3 separate regions of the Homo sapiens genome follow, and all the other regions are linked to region 3. The links are contacts of gene promoters, found by promoter capture Hi-C in human tissues and cell types (Jung and others, 2019). All regions are on one chromosome and are shown on one strand. Each heading gives the region's core, a stretch centred on a gene start or on the middle of the fragment in contact. The rest is flanking DNA. Distances are from core to core; before and after follow the strand shown. Region 1 overlaps CDC14B (cell division cycle 14B). Region 2 overlaps CDC14B (cell division cycle 14B). Region 3 holds the start of CDC14B (cell division cycle 14B).

Evidence for each region. The method cuts DNA at HindIII sites, captures the fragments that hold promoters and counts their contacts. A contact is called where the count stands out against the background at its distance.
Region 1: a contact is called between a fragment that was not itself captured here and the fragment with the promoter of CDC14B in region 3, in 4 of the 25 tissues and cell types used here (IMR-90 fibroblasts, dorsolateral prefrontal cortex, hippocampus and 1 more).
Region 2: a fragment that was not itself captured here is called in contact with the fragment with the promoter of CDC14B in region 3 in 3 of the 25 tissues and cell types used here (dorsolateral prefrontal cortex, neural progenitor cells and thymus).

What each region holds. Positions count from the first base shown.
Region 1 is chr9:96,531,594-96,535,996 of GRCh38, forward strand. CDC14B (cell division cycle 14B) reads right to left here. Exons shown (of 14, transcript NM_033331.4): 8 at 2,862-2,949; 9 at 2,334-2,564. Among named protein-coding and RNA genes, the nearest start is that of HABP4, 84 kb to the left of the region's middle. The HindIII fragment of the contact is 6,580 bases long and covers 1-4,403 here.
Region 2 is chr9:96,548,243-96,553,061 of GRCh38, forward strand. It overlaps CDC14B (cell division cycle 14B), which reads right to left. Exons shown (of 14, transcript NM_033331.4): 5 at 3,554-3,630. Among named protein-coding and RNA genes, the nearest start is that of CDC14B, 69 kb to the right of the region's middle. The HindIII fragment of the contact is 7,710 bases long and covers 1-4,819 here.
Region 3 is chr9:96,617,419-96,621,672 of GRCh38, forward strand. CDC14B (cell division cycle 14B) reads right to left here and starts at 2,425. Exons shown (of 14, transcript NM_033331.4): 1 at 1,801-2,425. The coding sequence starts at 1,960. RefSeq lists an enhancer at 1,576-2,076. The HindIII fragment of the contact is 32,033 bases long and covers 1-4,254 here.

The DNA of each region.
Region 1 (4,403 bases), core at 633-3,132, 86 kb before region 3:
TTCATTTTCTCTATTGGTTTTCTACTCTCTATTTTATAAATTACAATAATATACTACTTGCAATTTTTGTATATAATAATACACAAAAATTATACTACTTGCAAACGACAAATTATTTTACAAATTACAATAATTTACATATTATAATATTTGCAAGTTACAATAACAAGTTACAGTAATAATATTTTACAAATTATCTTGTTACAATAAAACTAGCTTTTATAGTGGTCCTTGTATTTGCCTTTATCAGAAATCTTTATTTCCTCTTCTCAAATGGCTGTGTGTTACTGTCTAGTGTGCCTTCATTTCAACCTAAAAGACTCCCCCTTTAGAGTTTCTTGCAAGTCAGATCTAGTGATTAAAAACTCCCTTTTAAGTGTTTGGTAGAATTTACTGGCGATGTTATTATATCCAAGGTTTTGCTTTGTCAGGAGGCTTTGGACTACTTAATCCCCTTACTAGTTAGGGGTCTATTCAGATTTTCTATTTGTTTTTTGCAAGTTACAATATTTACAAGTTACAGTAATAATATTTTACAAATTATCTCGTTACGATAATACTAGCTTTTATAATGGTCCATGTATTTGCCTTTATCAGAAAGGCAAACTGATTGCCTGGGCAAAGTCTTAATTTTTCCATTATTTTTGAAGGAGTTTTGCCAGATGTAGAATTCTTAACAGGTTTTCCCTCACTTATGCATTTTGAATATATCAACCCACTGCCTTCTGGCCTGCAATGTTTCTGATGAGAGATCTGCTGACAATCTCAGTGGTATCCCCTGTATGTGGTAGGTCACTTCTCTCTTGCTGCTTTCAAGACTGTCTGTGGCATTATAGCTTGATTATAATGCATGTTCACATGGGCCTCTGAGTTTATCCTGCTTGGAGTTTGTTGAGCTTCTTGGATATTCCTGCATATATCAAATCTGGGGAGTTTTCAGCCAAATCATCTGTCTGCTCCTTTACTTCTCTTCTCCCTCTGGAACTCCCACGATCTGTATCTTGGTCTACTTGGGTGTGTCTCAGGGATCCCTTAAATTCTGTTCATTTATGTTATGCTCTTTATTCTTTCTGTTCCTCAGACTTGCTAATTCTTTAATGATTCTAGCTTCACACGCACTGATTCTTCTGCCTGCTCAAATATGCTTTTGAATCCCTCCAGTGAATTTTTCATCTCAGTTTTAGTACATTTCCAGAATTTCCTTTTGGTTCCCTTTTATGTGTTCTTTTTATAACTGATATTAGTATTTCTTCATAAATCGTTTCCTTGACTTTTCCCACATATTCTTTTAACTCTTGGGTATCTTTAAGATGGTTATTTAAAATTTTTTGCCTACTAAGTCCACAATTTGATCTTTCTCAGGGATAGCTTCTGTGGATTTATTTCTTCTTCTTTTTTTTGTTCTGTCTATTGGCCAGGCTGGAGTGCAGTGGCATGATCTCAGCTCATTGCAACCTCTGCCTTCCGGGTTCAAGTGATTTTTGTGCCTCAGCCTCCAAAGTAGCTGGGATTACAGGTATCCGTCACCACACCCAGCTAATTTTTTTGTATTTTTAGTAGAGACAGGGTTTCACTATTTTGGCCAGGCTGGTCTCAAACTCCTGACCTCAGGCGATCCGCCCGCCATGGCCTCCCAAAGTGCTGGGATTATAGGCGTGAGCCACCATGCCCGGCCTGGATTTATTTCTTCCCTTTGAATAGGCTATACTTTCCTGTTTCTTTGTATGCCATGTAATTTTTCAATAAAAACTGAAATGTGATGTTTTGCCATTATATTTAAAACTACAAATACAGCAGTAACTCTGGAGATCAGTCTCCCCCTTTCCCCAAGGCTTGCTGAGCTTTTTTTCCAATATTGGATTTTTGTAACAAAACTATATTTCTTGTTTCTTAATTAACTAACAAGAGAGTTAAATAAATCCTACTATCTTCATACCATTTATTATTGTATAGTCATTCATTTATTCAAAAAATATCTATTAAGTGCCAGGCACTGTTACAATTGCTGAAAACAGAGCAACTTGTTAAGAATATAGTTTCCATTAAGACAGGCTCTTACAGTCTACGCTACTCATTGATGTATCCTAGAATTATATAGGATGCACCCAATAAATATTTGATGAATAAATAAATGCATTTCAATGTGATGTATTTGTAGAATTACTTATGAAAATAAGTTACTATACTTTTCATCTGAAATCAAAGGTTTCACGGCACTCTAAAAATAAAGGCAGTTTCATGTTCTGACACATAAACTAAATGAATATGGTCTGTTTCTACATATTCATATACTCATACTGTATACTATTCTTTAACCACCCCTAGAAACATACCTTTGCAATGTACTGCAATGGCACCCTCAGCATTTTCACAGATATCTAGGAATTCTTTGACAATGGCATCAGTAGGGGTGCTGCCATCCGCAAAGAAAAGATCATGGTGATCGAAGCCAGCATCCGTAAAGCGTTTGGCATCATACATCCTTTTATTCAGACGAATAATGGTAGTAACATTGTGATTCTTAAAATATTGAATATAAGTCTCAGGAGAATGTTGGTGGTAACCTACATAAAGAAATGCACCAGATCTTATAAAACACATAAAGAAAACAATGGCTAATAGTTTCACCTGTAACTGAACGGAAACAGTATCTGGACTGGGAATTAAATACCAATTTGATTATAACTGTAAAAAACAAAAGAAAAGAAAGTTAAAATCCAGTCAGAATGATCTACTGAAGTGACCAAGTATGCTTAAATAATAATTAACACTTGGTCAAGCTTGGTGTAACTCTTTCAAAAGAAAATATAGGATAGATATTTTCAATAACAAAATGAGATTAATGCCATAATTTCACATACCACTTTCAAGTCTGGCTCTTGAATGAGGTCCACAGAAGGCAATAAATCGGTCTGGTATTATCCAATTTAAATCTCCATTTTCTGCTTTCTGCAAGGGGAAGACCAGCACAATTCGTTTTTAAATGTATTCTCCCCACAACCTCTCTACTCAAGACTGAGTCTCTGAAGGACTTCAAACTCATTTGCTTTAGCGGAAAAGCTGTTTACAAATTGCCATGAGACAGGAATCTCAATTTGCCCTGCTATAAGTATATCTAGGGAATGGACGTATATCCTGTTCCTAATCATCTTCTTTTAACAGTGTTTCATTGCTAGGGTATCAGCCCTTGGAATACAGAGCTGACTGCTGCCATACAAATATACTATTTGGTTATTTTATCTGAATCAATTCTCATTATAGTTGCTGCTAATTAATAAGAAAGCAAGCAAACTTTTCCAGTATAAGGAATCTGGGAACTTCCCTGTTTTCCTGAATGACTAACTGGCTTCCAACATGAGCAATCTTGACTCCACGAATAAAGGGGGAAAAACTATCTACTTAGGTTTCTGGCTTCCCAATATTTACTTACTTACCTACTTACAGAGATATATCTTTCCACTATCTTCCTAACTATTTAATAAGGCAACCAATTTAAAAAGTTCATTTGTTCGTGATCAGCCTGACCAACATGGAGAAATCCTGCCTCTACTAAAAACTACAAAATTAGCCAGGCATGGTGGCGCATGCCTGTAATCCCAGCTACTCGGGAGGCTGAGGCAGGAGAATTGCTTGAACCCAGGAGGCGGAAGTTGTAGTGAGCCGAGATTGTGCCATTGCACTCCAGCCTGGGCAACAAGAGCGAAACTCTGTCTCAAAAAACAAAAATTAAAAAAATAAATAAATAAATGCACTGAACCGACCAGGAAACTAAAAAATTACAAGTATACCAAGATCACAGTATGTCCCTACAAAAAAACAAATATAAACTGATATGTAAGACATGTTACTTCCTGTTATTAGGTCCTTTGGATTGAGTTACCATTACTATTATAACATAGATACAGTTCAAATTTAACAATAATAGAAACTTCTGTCTTAATGAAATGGACAACAGAGACTTAAGCAGGAAGTAGAAGACACTTGATAGTGCAGAAGGAGAGGACTCGTGATTAAAAACAACAGATAAATTAGCTTTGAAATTGGGGTGTTTCTACGTGTACCTAAAAATGAGTAAAAAATAACAGAGTTTCTTGAATATCTACAGGGACCAAGCAGGTAATCCCAAACCAGTTTACTGGACTTAATGATCAACATGGGGAATCAGTCAGCCCATGTTCCATAATACAAAGGTCTAAACAGCCGGGTGCAGTGGCATGCACCTGTAGTCCTAGCTACTTGGGAGGCTGAGGCAGAAGGATCACTTAAGCCCAGGAATTTGAGTCCAGCCAGGGCAACACAGTGAGACCCTCTCTCTTTAAATAAAAAGAAAAGGAAAGGTCAAAGCAGGAATGAGGGCAGCTGTTGCCAGATATTCTGATTTTAAAGTGAAATCAGAAATCTGG
Region 2 (4,819 bases), core at 416-2,915, 70 kb before region 3:
ACAAATATACAATACTACCTCTCAAGAAAACAGGAAGCAGAGGCAAGCCCCACACACACAAAAACAACTAAGAAGCAAAGAGTATTATAACAGATAATACCAGAGAACAGAAATACACACTGTTCATAACAATGATCCTATGATATTTAAAAAAAATTAAACTATATTTTATACTATTTAATTATGCAGACCAGACACAGAGAAATATTTAATATAACTCAATAAGAAATCATATACACACATACACACACACATACATACACACACACTTTAAAACTCAGTGGTTAAAGAAGGCTGGGCACAGTGGCTCACCCCTGTAATCCCAGCACTTTGGGAGGCCAAGGTAGGCGGATCACTTCAGGCCAGGGGGTTGAGACCAGCCTGGGCAACTTAGTGAAACCCCATCTCTACTAAAAATACAAAAATTAGCCGGGCATGGTGGCATCTGCTCTAGAGGCTGAGACATGAGAATTCCCTGAACCTGGGAGGCAGAGGTTGCAGTGAGCCAAGATTGCGCCACTGAACTCCAGCCTGGGTGACAGAGCAAGAATCTGTCTTTAAAAAAAAAAAAAAGAGAGAGAGAGAATTCTATCTAAGTTGAATTAAATCTAATTAAATAAAACATTGCTACAGAACATAAAAGAACTTATTTGCTATAAATGAATGCCATTCTTGCACAACGTCGTGTTAGCAATACTTTGTTGGTCATATTTATTCTATGTACTTAAAGTGGCAAGATACAAAGAATATAATGTCATTTCTATCAAAATATTATCAGGCTTTATTAATTCTGATTGGACTACTTTCTAATTGATAAGTTCTATAGAACACTATGTGAAGAAGCACTAAATTTAAAAACTAAGTCTATCACAGGTTGACACTTTTGTAAGATAAATATGAAATGCAATAGTACTATACTATTACATATCCAGTAATGCAATAATCTTATTTTTGTGAATAAAATAAATTACTAGAAAAATGAAAGGGGAAAAAAAACAAAATACAAGCTCAAATTTCTTCTACTATTTGATTCTACAGACATAAAATTGCTCTATTCGATAACTATAAATGTTTCTAAAATCTTATTCTCAACTTCTGTATTTATCTCAACACAGGCTGGTAACAAAATGTCACAGATCGGCACCAGTTCACAGGCCACACTTTATGAAATCCCAGCACTTTGGGAGGCTGAGGCGGGCGGATCATGAGGTCAAGAGATCAAGACATCCTGGCCAACATGGTGAAACCCCATTCTCTACTAAAAATACAAAAATTAGCCAGGCGTGGTGGCACACGCCTGTAGTCCTAGCTACTCGGGAGGCTGAGGCAGAAGAATCGCTTGAACTTGGGAGGCAGAGGTTGCAGTGAGTCCAGATTGCACCACTGCACTCCAGCTTAGCGACAGAGCAAGACTCCGTCTAAAAAAAAAAAAAGAAAGAAACACTGTTTAGATAAATCAAATACCTAGTATCTACAATAGAAGAGATTCAAATTCCACAAAGCTGAATGGTTTCTAGCTAAGTCTTGCCTTTTGGAGAATTACTGACTGATGCTCCTGGGACCAAAAGGAACTAACTTCATTTCTCAGTGCCAAACTTTAATAATTTGAAACATAGCAAGGCAGTAAGCAATGCTTATTCTGTTTTTGGCACCTGTATTTAAATTAACTCAAAACGTCTTTTTTCACATCAACAGTGTTCCATGGATCCTTCATTGCACAGTGCGAAATGTGTGAGCATGTTCCTATTTCAGGACCTTGTGCTGTAAATCTAAGAGTGGCATCACAAAAGATTACCATTATAAAGAAGAGTTCTATAGAACAAATGTCACTACATCAAGAGATGACCAAGGTGCCTGTGACTCAAGACCAAAAATACAAGCATTTCTTTTAAAGGAAGAATGTGGTTGCTATTATGTTATAGGTTGAGAAGAATTTTCCAGCTTAGAAAATGATCTTTATTTCCCCCTCTTCCCTTCCTACCCACCTCAAATAAAAGAATACTTAAGATGAGCCATGAGCTAGCAGAAAGGGATGATACTGGGTTCAAGCCAATTCTAATTTGCTCAATCACAGATTTTCACAATTTTTCATGCAGCGTATTACTGAAGTCTTCAGACTGCCCTGACAAATTGTTATTTCATGGAGTAAGTCCACAGGCAGGCCTATAAAGTTATTTGAAAGGGAGATTCTGCCAATAATTAGAAATACCCATCCCAAGGCTCATCTACAATAAAGTCAGATTCACAAACTCCCTTTTTTAAAGTTAGGGCCATACATTCAAAATCAGGCATTTGTGGTTTATGTAACAATCCTAATACGATAAACTAACGAACTAATTAGTTTGAACAATGAACTAATAAGCAATAGTTATTATTAATTTGTGAATGGAAGAACAAGCAGTTTTTGAAAATATCAAAGTCTTCAATGAGTAAAATTATTTCATACATTTATTACCCATTAAGTACCATACAAGTATTTAAACTATAGAGCTAAGTCAAGTATTTTGATAAACGAGCAGAAAAATTTTTAGAACTTGATTTAAGCACTAGTCTTCTAGAAATATCTTCAACACAATCGCATGCTAAGTTTGAGATGATGTCATCCATTCCTGTAGACATCACTAACTACCACCTCTGGAACACAGTGACTTGACTGGTTTTTCTGGAAGTGGTACTGCATTAGCAACCTTATCGACTGTCTCTACTGACTGTGTCCCCAGAAAAAAGGGGTTCATTTTGGTCCCAGAAAGTAACTACTGATTATTGGGAACGTTTCTTAACTTCTCAGGAACCACACTCCTCAGTGGTAGTTTTGAGTACAATAACCCAGGATTCTCACCTGATACAAAGCCTAGGTTTTGGGGTTTGCTTTTTTTTTTTTTTTTTTTGAGACAAGTTATCTCTCTATTGCCCAGGCTTGAGTGCTGTGGTATGACCATAGCTCACTCACTGCACCCTCGAACTCCTAGGCTCAAACAATCCTCCAGCCTCAGTCTCCCAAGTAGCTGGGACTACAGGCATGTGCAACCACGCCTGGCTAATTTTTTTTAAAATTTTTTTATAGAGATGGGGTCTGTCTTTGTTGCCGAGGCTGGTCTGGAACTCCTGGGCTCACGCAATCATTCCACCTTGGCATTCCAATATGCTGGGATTACAGGCATGAGCCACTGTGCCCAGCCAAAGCTTAGTTTTCATCAATGGCAGTAGTTCTCAGCGTAGGGAGATTTTGCTCTCCATCCCCCAAGGTCACTTACAGGGATATATGGCAATGTCTGAAGACATTCTGAGTTTTGACAATTAGAGTGGGTGTGGGGATTTTACCAGCATCTAGTGGGCAGAAGCCACGGAGGCCACTAAACATGCTACGACGCACAAGATAGCCTCCATGACAAAACGTCAACAGTGTCACTGTGGAAAAACCCAGATCTGTGGTGTTATTTGCGCTCATCCTAAAATGACTATTTACCAGATCTTCTTTTTTCAGAAACAACTATCAAGATATTTCTGGCAAGGATCTGATTACCTGAATCTACCACATCATTCTTATATTTACCTGAAAGGAATATAGGATGTCTCTCCAAAGATTAATATTCTATATGCTTCTTCTGGGGTTCTCCCCAAATATATAACCTATGTTTGAAAAAAGAAGAAAAAGGCAATTTATTTCTAAGTGAAGATACAGTGCTGTCACTGCGAAGTAAATTTTGTCCAATTTCCAACCAACTGAGCAGGGTTCTCCAGCCTTCCCCAGGAGCCTAGGAATCACCCAGAATCCTGTCCATAGATTTCTTTTTTGTTTAAATCCTCCATTGCTGGTTTCTGTTGTTTGCAGTATAAGCCCTGACCAACAACTCTTCACAGCAACCTTTTGTGGTAAGAAGCACAGTATTTTAAAAACAGATTTTCCAAATCAAGACGTTAGACTGATCCCATGCTTTTACCTCCCCTCCTTCCTGAAAGTCCACTGAAATGACAGCTAAGCAGCGTGTAGGAGATGGGGATGGGGTTAGACTGGGGTGAGGTGGAAAGAGACACAAAGGCAGAACACAGACTGTGATTAACTCTGTCCATGTAGGTGTGAGGGCTTGCAATACTGAACAAGTTGATTATCAAACTGCACTTGTTTTCGACGCTCATTGACTTCTTTTGTCCTTAGAACTATGCTATGCTTTGACTTTAACCTGGGAGAATACCTCAAGTATATTCTTCAGCATTTGAGGTCTATAGTTGGTATTCCTTGCCTTTCCAAACATTTTTTTTTTCCCTTGACATTTTTTATTTGACTACTATGCGTAGGATTTTTGGTCTGCAGTCATTTCCTCTTGATAGTTTCTAGATAACGTTCTCATGTCTTCTCACTTCTAGTGTTACAGAAGTATTTTACTGATCTAAGTATCTCTGTCTGCTTCTTACAAGTAACCTGTTTGTTCTAGAAATCTGCAGTTTGAGACTTTCACCACCATCTCTCTAAGTAAGTCCTCTGCCTACCCCCTATTACATTTGCCTGGGACTTCAGAACCTTCCTGCAGGGCCCTTTCAACTAATGTACGGAAGGTTGGGGTTGGGGAGGCGGGAGCGGTGGGAAGGAGAAACAGCATTAAATCTGGCACATATATTATCACTAAAATTAGGTTGAACTCCAAAGATTACTTTGGGGAAATAGATTTTAAATTTCACTAATAAAAAAAAAGAAATCACTAAAAAAAGTTAATTGCAAACTTTTTATCTCCATTACTTAACATGATACATGTGACCTGTTTCCACAACCAAATGTGAAGCATTCTGAAGTTGGGACCCATGTCTTATGGTTTCATTACAC
Region 3 (4,254 bases), core at 1,175-3,674:
ACATTCAAATCTACATAAACATTTAAATCCATACGTACTTGTTAATGGTTTTATTCATAAAACCGTATGTACATTGGCCTAAGCAGTAATTAAAATCAAGTAAGCCAGTCTTATATGCACCAACTCAGAACAATCATTCTAATAAGAAACACTATGAAAACGGAAAAATGTGCAAAACAACATGTGTGCTACTCGCACGTGTATGGTAGAGAATATATAGTATATATAGTATGCATGCACAGCCTATTTCTAGAAGGCTTCACAAGAAACTGGGAAGAGTAGTTGCCTCTAGAGAAGGACACTTGGAGACTGTGAGACCAACTTTTCTGCACGTACTCCTGTGCACCTTTAGAATTGGAGTTCTGTACCATGTAAATGCATTACTTGTCCTAAAATTAAATCCCATTCAACACAGATCCTTTCAAGAGGTATAAACAATAACGGGCAGAAACTATGTATAGGCCCACCCGTTCCCAGCCCCATCCGTCCTCGGCGAGGCCCTCTCCTGGGAAGGGCACAACGTTAGCGGGACTTGGCTTCTCAGTCTCAGCAGGCTTCACCTCCCGCACACCCCCCGCAGCTACCGGCCGGGGACTGGTACTCAGGGCAACCCCTTCCTATGCCCGCTCTGGTTCCCAAGGGCCATCCACCAAAGCCGAGAAACCCGCTCTGCTCTCAGCTTCATTTCAAAACGAACTTAGTTTCCAGATTGTCCATGAACCTAGAATATTATTTCTCCTAAACGTCTGTGTTTGTCTAAACACTTCCACTTAATGTTCTCGCCACTCCAGCTTACCTGGTTTATCAAAGGCTAGGGGCTGGAAACAGTTTTTAATAACGCCACGCACCGAGGTTGACACATTCCCCGCCACTGAAAACAGACTGCCAATTCCCTCAAAATCGTGGACAGCTCTGCTGTTTACACAGCGTTGCCACATACATCATCACATTTAATGCCTTCACACGCGTCACTGTCAATCCCAGCAAACCTAACAGCTGCCAAATTGGATTTATGAGTCTCCAAGAACAGTCGAATCAGCACTAACAGAACAGCTATCGAAGGGCTGCTTGGCTACCTGCTCTGGCTGGCTGGGATTTCTCAAAAGTGACAACCCGGACATTCGTCTTGCCGGCTGGCTCGAATGCCACCAACGTGACACCTTCCTTCTCGAGGCCCCGGCGGGGAGCGGACCCCGGGAGGCGGAGGCGTTCGGGGGGCGCGCTAGGGGGCAGGGCGCGGGAGGCCCAGGAGAGGGGCTCGGGCTTACGCGCCGGACGGGCAACGCGGCGCCCAGGGTCCCAAGGCTACGGAGCAGCGGGGGTTTGGCCAACGCCAAAAAGGGGCAGCTCCCGTGCCAGGCGCGTTCAGCGCGCTCGGGGAATCCTCAGGGGCTGATTCAGAGGTTGTGACTCGCGCGAGGGCCAACCGGGCTCGCAATCCCTGAAGGCGGAATCCACAGGAACTCAGAAGCAGCCCGCGGGGAGGAGCTGCAGGTTCGAGGCGCCGGGCTGACGCCCGCAACTTAGAAAGGTGACCCTCGGTCCATCTTGCTGGTGGAGGAGGGTGCACAAGCTAAAGTTAAAGCTCGCAGCCCACGCAGCTAGAAACTCGGGGCGGGGGGCGCTCCTCAGGAGCCAGGCTCCTAAAGGGGGTGTGGCGGCCGGGGCGTTTAAGGGGGTGGGGGCGAAGGCATTTCGGCCCGGCCCCGGAGGCCCCGGGCAGCCCGGTGGGAGGTGGGCCAGGGCCCCGCGCCGGGTGCGGCCGTCCGGGGCCCTCCGCGCGCCCACTGGCCGGCTCACCGGTGATGTCCAGGTACACGTCGTCCTGGGGGTCCCGGCGGCGCGGGTCTTGCTGCGTGGAGCTGCGGATCTTCTTCACACCCGGCGAGGTCGACGAGCAGCGCCGCGAGCAGGGGGGCGCGGCGGCCCAGCTCGACCGCCGCTCGCTTTTCCGCTTCATGGAGGCGGCCGCGGCCCGTCAGGGGGCCACGACCATGGCCCCGCGCGCCCGCGCGCCCGCCGAGGCTCCCGCCAGCCCCGCGCGGGCGCTCGGGGCGGCGGGCGCAGAGCGGCGCTGCGGGGACGGCGGGCGCCGGCAGAGCCCGGCGGGAGGCGGTCGCGCAGGAGCCGGAGGAGGAGCCCGGCCCACAGCGCCTGCCCCGCTGCCTCCCGCGGCCGCCGCAGGACCGGCGCCGCAGCCCTCGCTACAGCGCCTCCTGCCGCGGCCGGCGCCCCCAGCCCGCCCCCAGGTGCCCGCAGCCGGCTGGCGCGGCCGAGGCGACGGGGCTGCAGCTGGCGGCCGGAGCTGCCCGGGGTAACCGTGCGTGCCCACCGCGGCCGCGGCCGCTGCTGCGTAGGCGCCGGGGCACAGCAGGACGCGGCTCGTGGGGACCCCAGGAGGGCTGTTCCGTGGCGCTTCATTCACAAAAAAGGGCCCACAACCCTCCTCGGGGCCCGCAGACTGAGGCCTTTCATTGGCCAATGCGGCGTGACGTCACGGAGACGGGGCCTTTCTACAGGCAGGTACTCGGTGACGCCATAAAGAAAACTCTGAGGGCTTCCGCCAATCAGAGATAAAGTGTGCTAGCGACCTTCGCCAGCCCCCCAACTTTTGTTTCTTCTGTGTCCTCCAGGTGCCAGCACCCCAGATCCCAACTTTCTTTAGTGAGTCACCAAACATTTACACAGCCCCACCCTAGTAACTTAACTCCAGGTCTTTGGCATATATATATCTTAAAGTATTTCTTGAATTTCCTTGTAATTCGCGCCAAGAGAAAGGGACTTTTGCCATGGCTGCCAGCTTGGAAGAGGATGGCCTGATTACATTACCTGCAGCTATATAGATTTAAAGTAGAGTTGATTTCAGAACTTAAGTAAAACTATTTAAACAACTACGCTCTATTTATCGACCTATGCCCAGCATTCAAACAGGCCAAGCAAGGGCTTCTTAAGGACCCGATGAAACTTCCGTGGAACCACAATATACCGTGGTTGTTTGCACCTCAGAGTTTCTCATCTCGGAATCCAGCGCCCACATTAATTCAGTAAGTTTATACACTCATTGCTGTGTATACTGAGGTGTCGACAGGTCCGATTATATCATGAAGTATTGAAGCAAGGGGCAAGTTTTGTCCTTAAACTTCTTTATCTGGCACACTGTAGGGTCATATCCTCTTCTTTTTCTACTGGATTAAAATAATGCCCTATCTTCCTGGAACTTAACCAAAAACTGTCATTTTGGAGGGCCTTTAAACAAACGTCCATGGTAGCATCTAAAAGGGTGAGAAGATTGGAGGGCAGTGTTAAGATTTCACGGCCCCAAATTTTACAACATCTGCAAGCTGTCCCTATTTTTCACCAGCACTTGAACGTTTTATCCTGCAGTTCCGCAGTTAACTGCCAGCCTGGGGAAAAGAAAGATGAATTTGAGTCAGTCCCCTTGGAAGCCTCTCAGAAATGCAAATTTTCATAGAGCACCTCAGGAAGGGGCTCTTTGACTTCTATTGTTGTGGGCTTTTACCTTAAGCACGGCTAAATAAGGAAGTAGGGGGGCTGTGTCTGAAGCTAGAGATCAGCAACTCTGTAAGCACTTTTTCTTAAGGTTGGTTCTCCTGTTCACTCTTCCTCTGTTTCCCCTAAGGAAATCAGTGAAGGCCTTAAATTTAAAATGATCTACATGTCTGTCTGTAGGGGCAGCAAAGAAGCTAGAGACGTGGGAGGCTGTGCGGCGCTGCGCAAGTAAGTTTTAGAGAGCAGAAACGGTAGGGTCACAGTCCTTTGTTTTGACCTGGAGGAGGAGGAGGAGACCTTTCAGACCGGCCTAGGGGCTCAGCATTGGAAAGCCACCCAGTTTCCCAGACTACCAGGGATTTTAAATGAGTGGGTCTTGTTTTGAATAGATATTACAGGAGAGTGGTCCGTGTGGCTCCCTGGAAGTACAGAGAAACTACCTCCATGACATTATGATCTTTTGAGAGTAATTTGTTTAAATGTCAGGAGGCAGAGGTTGCAGTGAGCCGAGATCGTGCCATTGCACTCCAGCCTGGGTGACAGAGCTAGACTCCGTCTCAGAAAAAAAAAAAAAAAAGTGTCATAAATACAGATAATTATACCATTTAAATATTTTCATACTTTGCAAGTATATAATTTTATGCTTTGTATAGTAGGAACAGACAAAGTATAGGACTACACTTTGTAATTACGCGAAAGTATCTTCCCTTCTTGTGAATAGGAAGTCTGTGTGCTGAGTATACA